2 separate regions of the Homo sapiens genome follow, and region 1 is linked to region 2. The links are contacts of gene promoters, found by promoter capture Hi-C in blood cells and fetal thymus (Javierre and others, 2016). All regions are on one chromosome and are shown on one strand. The core of a region is centred on a gene start or on the middle of the fragment in contact, and the rest is flanking DNA. Distances in the headings are between cores, read along the strand shown.

Region 1 (5,982 bases), core at 2,419-4,918, 110 kb after region 2:
TCACAATATTGGCTTAGGAACTTACAGTGGAGGAGACGGCATTGAAATTCAGGGTACTATTTTGGTATTTTTAGCATTTTAGAAACCATCTACTACATTGTAGCTTGAGAAATTTTGAAAGACTTCTCTAAAAGTTGGTTTCTAGAGACAAAGAGGAAAATAGATATGAAACAATTTTACAAAATTGCTGATGTTTTGGAGAAGTTAATAGACTACAGTAATTTTTATCAGTAGAAGTATATTCTCATTTCCACGTGGTTCACTCTATAAATGTCTCAGGAAATAGTTTATGTTGTAAAGAAAGATAGTACTTTAATGTCAGCATCTACCTAAACAATACAAGTTAAAATAGAAAGAAGGAAGGAAGGGAGGGAGAGACAGAGAGAGAGAGAGAGACAGAGAGAGAGAGAGAGAAAGAGAAAGAAAGAAAGAAGGAGAGAAAGAAAGAAAGAAGAAAGAAAAAGAGAAAGAAGAAAGAAAAGAAAGAAAGAGAAAAGAAAGAAAGAAAGAAAGAATTCAGTTAGACCTCTTATTAATCTTTATGAAAAAAACAAGGTTAAAAAAAAACTTGCCACAGTCCATGGTTTTTGAATGTTTGAATGTTGTAAATAGTGGGTTATTGGGTGTGTCATTTTTCTCTTTGTGTTCAATTTCCTTTTCAGCTGTGACATAGTGATATGTTTACCACCTTCAGCCATCAAGGCAGCTGAAAAATAAAATAATCTGCCTCTCTGAACTTTAGTTTTGGGTCTGTACCCCAGTACCTGTCAATGTCAAACCTCCACGGATGCCAGATTCCAAGCTTAAGCCTCCACTCAAAAATGAAGGAGTTGGGTAGGAGGTGGGGACAAGAAATTTAAAAAAAATTAAGCCAGTGGAATCTAAAAGCAGTGGTTATGAAAGTTTAGTTGGAAAATGCTAGATGGACCAATGCATTTGAGTATCAGGAGTGGTAATGTTAATGCCTCCTTCAATAATGATTTCTGTAGTTTAAGCCATCACCCACCCATGGAAACTCCATAGACAAAAGAGTCGCTCAGCTGGTCTAAGGTAAGGGCCCTGCTTAATAAGGCAAGGTGGGTCTGTTTTTGTCTAGAACTCCTAGACAGGCCTCTTTTTCAGGAAAAGACGAATCTTCAAAGTATCAAGAAACATGAAGCTACTTGCTGAGTCTGTAAGATCTTCTTTAGCCACAGCTACATTCATGCAGTGGGTACATGGATGCATAGAGTGATAGCCTTAGACAGTGCTAGGTTCCAATGCCTGCCTTGCCACTTTCTAGCCCTGTAATTTAAAGAAAGTTACTTAAATGACCCAAGCCTCCCTTTTGTCATCTGCAAAGTGGGGATAATAATGGTCACTACTTATCAGGTATGGTAAGGGCCAAATGTCACGTGCACCTGGCATGTCTCCTGTGCTAATAAATGCTTGAAATGTGTTTCTGTCCTTTCACTTCTTAGGTCATTTTTAACTGTATGATTTGTATGTTGTGATAAGATCATTTACAAAACAGCTCACATCTCTTTGACATTTCATATGTAACAGAAGCTCCAAGTTCTGCCCTGAGATAAGGTACTTTCTTGGCTTCCTATTGAGGAGTTTAGGGTATAACATGGCTTCCAGGCCCTGAACCTTCTCTGTGGAACTGTGGGAAATGCCACAGGTGGGAGCCAGTTACCTGCTGAGAACAAGGATGCTGCAGCCCCACCCTGCTTCCTCACCCTCCGGCCCTCTGGCCCTTTGGCCCAGGGTTAGGTGCGGACCAGGAGAGTGGCTGGCAGGGGGCGATCCCAGTGGTGACAGTCCGTGTGAGAAGGTGCCCAGCTTGGGGCAGGTAGGCATCAAGAACTGCATCCAGAATGACCAAATAGAGTAGACCAGAGATGGGCTGGTCCACTCGAGGTCTGGAAGGCCACACCATGTAGATCAAGTAGAGGACACTTGTGCCCACAAGTAAACACCAAGATCCAGCAAGGAGGCTCTGAAATCCCTTCCCCAGGGCAGCCAGGTGTTGAGGTCTGAGCTGACTCAGAGCTTCAGGGAGCTTCACCCACTGCCAGGGACTGTTTCTATCCAGATACCTGCTCCTCCACAGGCTTCTCCCCACCGTCTCACAGGCCAACAATGCAGACTCCGAGAATGGGGATTTCCTTCCTTCCCCTTCTGCCTTGCAGGCCTCATGGAGCTGTAAACCTCTTGGAGAAAGAAATCACAGGCCAAGGCTGCAGACATCAGTTCAACTAAGAGATGTTCAATTCAAAAAGAACCTACAGGGCTCTGTCTGCAGCTCCTCTGCAGAAATGGGGGACCCTGGTGGGTGCCCTGGAGGCCCAGCACTCTTCAACCTTTTCCTCTTATCCACTTCAATCTTCTCCATTTTTAAAAATCAATAGGAAAAAGACCAATGACCCAAAAGAAAAACGGGCCGGGACATGAGCAGGCAGTTCACACACACACACACACACACACACACACACACACACACACAAGGAGACAAAATTGGCCAGTAAATATTTTTAAAATTCTCTTCCTCTCAATTTAAAAAACCCAAAGCAAAATAAGATTTCATTTTCTACTTGTCAGGCTGAGTAAAATAAAAAAGATATTTACTAATACTTTGCATTGTTTATGATCAGGAGGAGCATAACACAATGTAAATAGCTACAGTCTCTTCAGAGGGAAATTTCAAGGCTACATATTTTTCCTATGTATACACTCTTACCTGTGAGCCCAAAAGTATGCACAAAGAACCAGTTAAAGAAAGCATGGTTCATAATGGAGTAGATTTATTTGTGCTCATGTGGCACTATCTCCAAGACATGATATTAAGTGAAAAGGAGTGGGTCAGAGCAGGGCATAAAATATCTCTGAAAGAAGATACAAGAACCAACAGGCCATGGTGGTTGCCTCCAGAGAGAGGGCTGGAGGGCTGGGCCGCTAGGGTGGAGCACAGACTTACATTTCACTATACTCTTCTGGATTTTTTTTAAACCATAGGTATGTATTTCTATTTTAATTAAAAATATACTACTTTTTTTTTAAAGAAAACTTTCTCCATTCTCTTCTATCCCTCTATCCTGTCCTACAAACTTCTCCCTTAGTCTCTTTTCTTCTCTCTCTTTTTTTTTTTTTTTTTTTTTTTTTGGAGACAGGGTCATCTTACTCTATCACCCAGGCTAGAGTGCAGGGACATGATTGTAGCTCACTGCAGCCTTGACCTCCTGGGCTTAAGCAATCCTCCCACCTCAAACTCCAGAGTAGCTAGGACTTCAGATGTGTGCCACCATGCCCAGATAATTTTTTAAATTTTTCATGGAGTCGAGGTCTCACTATTTAGTCCAATTTGGTCTCAAACTCCTGGTCTCAAGCAATCCTCCAGCTTCAGCCTCCTACAGTGCTGAGATTACAGGCGTGAGCCACTGCACCTGGCCTCCCCTTCATTCTTTTTTTTTTTTTTTTTTTTGAGACAAGTTCTCCCTCTGTTGCCCAGGCTGGAGAGCAGTGATGTGTGATCACTGTTTACTGCAGCCTTGATATCCTGGTCTCAAACAATCCTCTTGCCTCAGCCTCATGAGTAGCTGAGACTACAGGCATGTACCACCAGAGATGGGGTTTCACCACATGCCCAGGCTGGTCTTGAACTCCTGAGCTCAAGAGATCCACCCGTCTCAGCCTCCAAAAGTGCTGGGATTATAGGCAGAAGCCACTGAACCTGGCCTCTCCCTCTCATTCCTGACAGATTATCTTGCTTTGCATTGACATAGAAAATGAAAACATCAGTGAGAACATCTTCAACTCAGTGCACAGCCAAGACTGTACTCTAACTGCACCACATCCATCCTTTCCACTTTATTTTCTTCTCCCAGTCCCTGGATGCCATCCATAGCAGGACTTTGTCCCTCTTTGGTGAACCCTCAGCCCCTCTCTTTATTCTGGATTTTTTCATTGATATTCAAATTCACCAGTCTCCCAGTTCCTAAACCACCTGTCGCTGCTGCTCCTGGACTCTTTAGTCCCTTTTGTGGTTAATCTTCTCGAAAGAGTTGTCTACATTGCCTATTATTTGCTCCTCTTCCTTTGCTCATTCTGCAGTCTGGCTTCTGACTCCATCCCCACCCATCTTACATCTCCAAAATCACATGTGACCTGCATATTACTATTATAAAATCACTGGACACCTCTTCTTGAACACTCTCTTCCACTCCTTTAACTAGCTTCAGTTACCACATCTATATTTTTAGTGCAGATTCATCAACTAACTCACTCTACACTGGTCATCTGCTTTAGACGCCCCATAGACACATCAGCCTCAGCACCTGTGTTCTCTCTTTCAGTGAATGGTGTTGTCATCCAAGCCAAAGAGTTGGGAGTCTTTCTCTCATCTTCCCCTTCCCCTGCTCTCTATAGCCAGCCTTCCAATTGTCATTTGAATCTGCCTTCTCAGCTACTATCCTAGTCCTTGCCACCAGTTTCTCTGTGTCTTTACAACAGCTGATCTCTCTGCCTCCAGCCTTCCCCTCCCCCATCAATTCTCTACACTCTTTGCTTTGACCCTTTCAATGGCTTCCTCTACCCTCAGGATAAATCCCAAGTTCCTTAACATGGTTACAAGACCCTGCATGACCTCATCTTATTCACCAACCATCTTTTGCATTCTAAGATCCAGCCTTACTGCTTTCATTCTTTAAATACTCTATATTCTTCCATACTCTGAATCTCAGAATGCAATGATCCTTCTGCCTAGAAAGCTCTTTTCTTTTCTCTTCTCCTGGATAGGTTTTCTTCATTTTTCATGTCTCAGCTTTCATCTGTCTTCCTCCAGAAACCCTGGTTTGATGAGCTTCACCCTGGGTTAGATGTTTCTCCCATAGCATCTTGTGCTTCCTCTTTCATAACTATCATTGCCCTGTAATGAATTGCTTCTTTAGTTCTGATTCTTCCACAAGATTAAGTTTAAAATGGAGCTTATGGCTGGGTGCTATGGCTCACACCTGTAATCCCCAGCGCTTTGGGAGGCTGAGGTGGGCAGATCACTTGAGCTCAGGAATTCAAAACCAGTCTGGGGAACATGGAGAAAACCTGTGTCTACAAAGAATGCAAAAAGTTAGCCAAGCATGATGGTCTGCACCTGAAGTCCCAGCTACTTGGGAGGCTGAGGTGGGAGGATCACTTGAGCCTGGGAGGTGGAGGTTGCAATGAACCCAGATTGTGCCACTATACTCCAGCCTAGGCAGCAGAGATAGAACCTGTATTAGAAAAAAAAAAAAAAAGGAGCATAGCCCTCCTGATACACCACTCTGGCACATAGTAAATGCCAAATAATCATTGTATGAACTGATGAATGCACGACCAACCCCCATTTCACAGTGTATTTTAACAAAGAAACATACACAGAGCCTTGCTGCCTTTGTGGAATCACCAAGGGAAAATAGCTCAGCCAAAGGTACTCTACATAGTTATAATTCTAATTCTGACTAACTTGTTAGGGTTCTCCCTCTGGTGATATATTGTAGAATTTAAAACATGTTTGCAATAATGCATGCCTTCATCTTCCCTTTAAAAACTGTGTGTGTGTGCATGTCCACGTCATTGTGTCAGAGAATGGGTTTGCCAAATAGGCCTTTGTAGTCCAGTAGTTTGAACTATTAGATTACTAATAGAAATCTATGAGAAGATTGTTCTTCAGCAAGTTTTCCAGTAAATTATCTCTAGGCAAGAATGTAGCAACTGGGTATTTTAAAATGTATTTTTGTAGCAGCTATTGACAAAGTACAGCCTGTATTGCTTAAGAAATTTTAACATGTAGACATCTAAAGTGCATTGTTGAAATAAAATGATACATACATTCCAAGGGTCAAGGCTGACCAATGTCAGATTTAAGAATGTCAGTTGGCAGAAGTGGAGGAATTTGGGAACTAGAAAACATGGCTATTTGCTCAGGTTAATTCTGAAATGGGTGGAGGGAGAATCAATGAGCATGTG
Region 2 (5,758 bases), core at 2,270-4,769:
GTATGGCGTAACTGTTACACTTTAAGAGTTCTTTAAAAGAAATGTGAAATTTAACGTTTTACTTTGAACCTGTTTGATCAGAAAGTATTAAATATCACTACCACATGAGTTAAAACAAAGAATGAAATAAAAAACAAATGGTGTCTTTGTAATCGGCGAATTACTTGATAAGACATTTTAACTATTTTACAGTTCTGCTTAGCACAAGAATAAACTGGGTTCCAAGGTACTACAGTGTTTGGCATTTTTACTGCAAGCTTTAAACCATAGTGTTACTCCTCTCAAGCCATCTCTAAGAAAATGGCAGTGTTTGTGAGTACAAAAATTGTTCTGTCCAGTAGGTGGTATTCTACATAGTCGAGATAAGAGAATTCTTTATAAAATTATGTTTTAAAAAATGGAAAATGACTTATAATTACCAGCTGTCTCAAAGGCTGTAATAAGAAAAATGCAGCAAATAGAAGTACTCATTAATATTATTTTGTTTTGAGAAAGCCAGAAATGATTCTAAGAAATAAACAATAATAATAAAAGATGTAATTAATATACTGTATCCCTTTTAAGCCAAAGCACACTTTTTACCTCAAGACTGTTCTGACTTTTACATTCTTAATTTCCTTTGTCCAAAATAGGACCCCATTTTAAATAGAGTTCATTTGAATTGAGTTCATAATCTAAAGTCACTTTTCCCCACAAGATGTTTTCATTTCAGTATATAAACTGCTAAGCGGCAAATGACTAAGTCAGTTATAAAGAATTTGTACCACAGTAAATGCTAATTTACAATAACTGTCAATAGAAACCTATAAACTTCTACACCCACGCCTAAAAGTTACTATAGTATTGAGGTCAGAACTAACATGATTCTTCCATTTGGTCAAATTTCATTTACTAAATCATACTGTCAAGAAATCCAAAGAAGAAACTTTAGTGGATTCTTCCAAAGCTGTGTAATTTTCCAAATGATTTTCCTCTGGTTGCAAAGCCTGTTCAGTCCTTCAATCCTTTTTTAGTCGTTTAGCTTTTGCAATGTTTTCTTGGCGTTTTTGCTTCTTCTTTTGCTCCTTCTCCCTGGCCTCAATCATCTTGGCCAATTTCCAAGACAGTACAGCACTTGCTAGGAACAGTGGAGTAAGGGCCAAAATAACGGTTGTAAGGAAGCCATAGGGGTCCTTTGCAGCCCATTCCACAACATACTCAGCCCAAGCCTTTATATCAAACATCTTCACAGCAGTCTTATGAAAACTGGGGCTGGGGGAGGCGGGTGGAGAACACAGAGGAAAAAAACAGGAGAAAAGACTATGTGGTTAATCAAATTTTGAAAAAGTTTCCTCACACAACCAGTTAACTCAGGATTCCATTATCACTCAGTTTGCTTTTTTAAAAAGTACAACTTAGTACTATTGTAATAAGGACTAGTATCTCTGGTTAGGAAAAAGTAATTCATCTAGTACAGCCAGAATAGTGACACTTCAAAGAGGTAAAGTTATAGAAGATTTAAAAAAGCCATGTGACTCTGTCATAAGGACTATGCATTCTCACATGCCTCCTATATTCAAGACAAACTTTATTTAGGAGGAGGCTTTTATAAAAATCTTGAGTTTTCTGTGGTCATTCCAGGAAACAGCTGAATACAGTTTGTCATTTTTTGACATATCCTTAGTATTACTAATTAACAAAAATACAAATCAGCAAATTTGGTGTTTGAAAAGGACAAGCAACAGAGCATGTGAAATGCTCGCAGAGAAGGAGAGATGACTATTTCCCCGAATGGGAAGGAGAGGGTAAGGGAGTCATGACATCGCATTAATATGCCAAAGAAGCAAAAAGTACTGTGCTATTTTATGCCCTTTCAGCTTTGAGGACCTCTGTTGGAATAAGCCTAATTTAATAAATGAGAAAGTAGCCTTAACAGATGCCATGTGTTTTGTTCCTTTTTGAGTGTAAGGAAAAGGCAACTGGCAAATGAGGATTATGTGACTTGAGTGACGTTTTCTATTTTGCCCCAGAGGCTTTTCTCCCTTTCATGTTTGTGTCAACCGCTATTCAAAGTGGAGAATTAGAATACCTGGGTAGGGAATGAGTGTATATACATCCACTTACAATTTCAACTGGAATTTTTTTAAAAAAATCATCTACCTTATGCTTGAGTAGTGATCCCTTAACTTTGTCCTGGTGTTATTAGTGACCCAATCACGACTTCAGATGACCCTTGGTAGTCTGTCTTCTTGAGTTCTACTGTACACATCTGAGAGACGGTTTAAATTCTGTACAATTGGCTAGTTGGAAAGAATACAAAAAATAAAACAAAATTTAAGTCACAATTTCAGGATAATTGTAATAAAATTTTAAATGGAAAATTTCTATATTGTATATATGCAACCTATATGACATCTAAAATTGCCTATCCGGTATAGTAACTTAATACGTTTCTTCCTCATTTGAATTTACAATTGCAAATGCCCTGTAAGAAAATCCTAATTACTGGAAATCAAGTATTTTACTAAGTTACTTATTTCAATAATAAAATTTTTTTAGTTCATTGACATACGGGAGACAAGTTGGCTCACTGACTGACTTACACAGCGTATCCGTTCCTAGATTTTCAATTTTTATACTAAAAATGTTGCCACTCATTTATTTACTGGATTAGGTACACCACTACAAAATCAAACAGCTCATCTTACTCTTTATAAAGGTTTTTTTGGGTCCATCATACAATTTGTGTCCTTTACTTAAAAAATTAGAAGACATAACCAAACAAATTATAGTAATTCACCCACAGTCCCATTACCCCAAGAAAACTGTGACTAGTTTTAATTATATCTTCCCCACGATTTTCAACTGAACACACATGAAAGTGCCTAATACGTTAAATATCTTAGCTCCTGGACTTCATACGACCTCACCCATACAGTTAGAATTAGGTACTACTGAGATCGATCTGCCTTCACCTTCTCCAGCCCAGTAGCGAATAAACAATGTAAGTTTCAGAAATAAGCAAAAGAACTTTGCAGTAAAAGAGCCATGGTCCACAGGCCACACATCTCCCTGCAACTCAACTTCGGACCCAAACGCTCGCGCCTCCACACTTTCAGGAATAAATCCTACTCTTCCGCCCAAAACGGATCGACCAGGCTCGATCTCCCAACCAGACCCGCGTGGCCCCTGCGGCTGCAACGGGTAGCACTTGACGGCCGTCCGCACTTCCTCCTTTGTCTTTCCCTTATTCCTTACGTTTCTCCCTTGCTCACTCTTCCCTCCTTACCCTATCGGGGCTGCAGACCCACGGAGGCCACGTTCACTCCTGCCCGTCGGCCTTGGCAAGCGCGGGCCCCTTGTCGCGCAGAGCGGAGGGTCCTGGGAGATCCTGGGTTGGCCCAGCCACACCTTGCGCCGCCGCCGTTTCTGCTGGACACCAGGAGAAAACCACGGCAGCTGCAGCCACCAACTTCCCCTACATAGCCCCACGGGATCGGATCCCACTCCCCACTCACCGCCAGACCGGAAGCAGGAAGGCGGAAGTCGCGGCCTTTGCGTCCCGCCCACAGGCGACCCGAGCCGCCAGCCGGGCGTGAGTAAGTCTAGGGCCCAGTTTCCGGCTGCGCCATTGCTGTGTGGGTCTTGGGACCTCGAGTTGGAGGACGCGGGAGGGTGGGGGCGGGGGCAGGGCAGCGCTGAGATTTCCGGGGAGCGGCAGGTGAGGCCGCGCGGGGCGGGTGACGGCACCCGGGCGGGCTCCTTTCCAGGCTGGAGCCCGAGACTGCCACGTCCTGCGGGGACCAAGTGGTGGGCGAGGAGGCGTGGAGCGGCTTCAGGACTCGAGGAGCGGTTCCGAAGCAGCTAGGGACTTTTGCCTTTGCCCCCCGAGGTCGATCGGAAGACAACCCCCATCCCCTGCTGTAGCGGGACAGTTGGAGGGTCATGGGTGGGTGAAGTGTTTGGCTGAGGGAAACTCAGACCAAAGAGCAGCGGCAAGAAAGCAGTTGGGTCCCCACAAAACGCCCGAAGTCAAGGTGAGGGTCACACAACGACTCTTGACGATTCCGGCGAGTTCATCCTGGTGCACATCCCACTCCATGCCTCTCTCTTCTGGTTGGACAATAGTTACATCCTTACGAAAAGGAGGCAAGCTACTGGGCCTTGGTGGATCCACTCAACCTTGTTACCAAGGGACATGCCGCCATGCTATGTGAAAAGGGGGGTTTTGTTGTTTGTTTTTAATTTAAGTATCTAATTCGTTTCACGAAAGAATGATCAATACCGGCCCAGAGTAAACTTGATAAGTAATTAAACTGTCAGGGCATAGAGTTCCCATAGAGGTGCTTGTTCTTTCAATACACAAATAAAGGGATGCAAAAGTCAACATGCAGAAAGGGTGAGTTAATATTGTCTTCTAATCTACAGGAACTGAAAGATTAGCTAATCTGGTTTGGTTGGTGACCAAATTTTGTGATTGCTTGCACTGTTTGACTACCTCTGACAAATGTTGCAAGACCTCTTCACTGATTCTCCAAAGACTATAGAATGTTCTCTTTCAGGAGCAAGCTGCGACATGTTTAACTAGTTTAGGTAAAACAACAATAACTGTTATTTACCAGGGAACAGGCTTTTGGCAGATAATCTAACGATCTACGATACTGTTCGTTGGGCATATGTTAATGTTTGTAATGTTGTATTACCAGCAGTTGTTTTCTTACTCCTTTTTATTTGAAAACCTGGATGATAGTTTCAAAGCCTATGCTGCTTAGGCCTAGCCTGTACCTTAGTAGCCAGAAAAAGTAGACTCAGTCACTGGATTGTGTGCACTGAATACTTACTTGAGATAACTGATTTTTCTAAAACTTCCCCAAGTCTTGAATCCAAGATGTGGGCAGAATGTATTATTTTAACATCCTTCGTTCCAGAGGCCAATGCGTGTTTTATTTTAATCATGATAGGTGGTTTTCCCAGTTACTGCCTCCGGATACTTGCAGTGCTGCATCCCTAGTTAAAAGCCCAGAAGTCTTGGGCAGGAAGGAAGGGCATATAAAGAGAAAGCCTTTGTAGTTCTTTAGCTGTAATCTAGACCAGGGGTCCCCAACGACGGACTGGTACCTGGTTTGCAGCCTGTTAGGAACGGGGCCGCACAGCAGGAGGTGAGCGATGGGTGAGTGAGCATTTCCGTCTAAGTTCCGCCTCCTGTCAGATCAGCAGCATCATTAGATTCTCATGGTGCGAACCGTAATGTGAACTGCATGTGCGAGGGATCTAGGTTGTGCGCTCCTTATGATAATCTAATGCCTGATGATCTGAGGTGGAACAGCTTCATCCTGAAAGCATCCCCCATCCCCGTCCATGGAAAAATTGTTTTCCACGAAACCAGTCCTGGATGCCATTAAGGTTGGAGACTGCTGATCTAGACCATGCCTTTACAATCTAAGTTTGCTCATCTAGCTTCAAGTTACAGGACAGTCTGCAAGACCAGGAACAGCATAGGGGTTGCCACAGTGGAGCTCCTTACTGCAGTCTGCATTGCCTTAACTAAAGGTGGTGTCAGGATTGATTCAAATACTGTGAACTACTTTCCATAAAGAGAAGTCTGAGCTCGTGAACTGAGATTCACAGTTGTGGTACAGTAATGTTATGTATACTCTGATAAATCACTCTGAGTGTGTTTCCACTTAGATATGTGGAAAGCATACTAGGCAATCTCCAATGCCCTTTCAGCTTTAAAATCTGTAAATTGGACTGGATTTGGTCATTTTTCTTAAATAAA

What was found. The method cuts DNA at HindIII sites, captures the fragments that hold promoters and counts their contacts. A CHiCAGO score of 5 or more calls a contact.
Region 1: a fragment that was not itself captured here is called in contact with the fragment with the promoter of SMIM15 in region 2 in 2 of 17 cell types (neutrophils and M2 macrophages); the score reaches 5.4 in neutrophils.

What each region holds. Positions count from the first base shown.
Region 1 is chr5:61,268,908-61,274,889 of GRCh38, forward strand. No RefSeq gene overlaps it. Among named protein-coding and RNA genes, the nearest start is that of LINC02057, 7.0 kb to the left of the region's middle. The HindIII fragment of the contact is 5,737 bases long and covers 801-5,982 here.
Region 2 is chr5:61,158,949-61,164,706 of GRCh38, forward strand. It overlaps SMIM15 (small integral membrane protein 15), which reads right to left and starts at 3,520. Exons shown (of 3, transcript NM_001048249.4): 1 at 3,269-3,520; 2 at 2,140-2,279; 3 at 1-1,251. The coding sequence starts at 1,223. The coding sequence ends at 999. It overlaps SMIM15-AS1 (SMIM15 antisense RNA 1), which reads left to right and starts at 3,368. Exons shown (of 4, transcript NR_109908.1): 1 at 3,368-3,578. RefSeq lists enhancers at 2,687-3,583, 3,069-3,148, 3,219-3,478, 4,009-4,108, 4,149-4,208 and a silencer at 3,659-3,768. The HindIII fragment of the contact is 8,836 bases long and covers 256-5,758 here.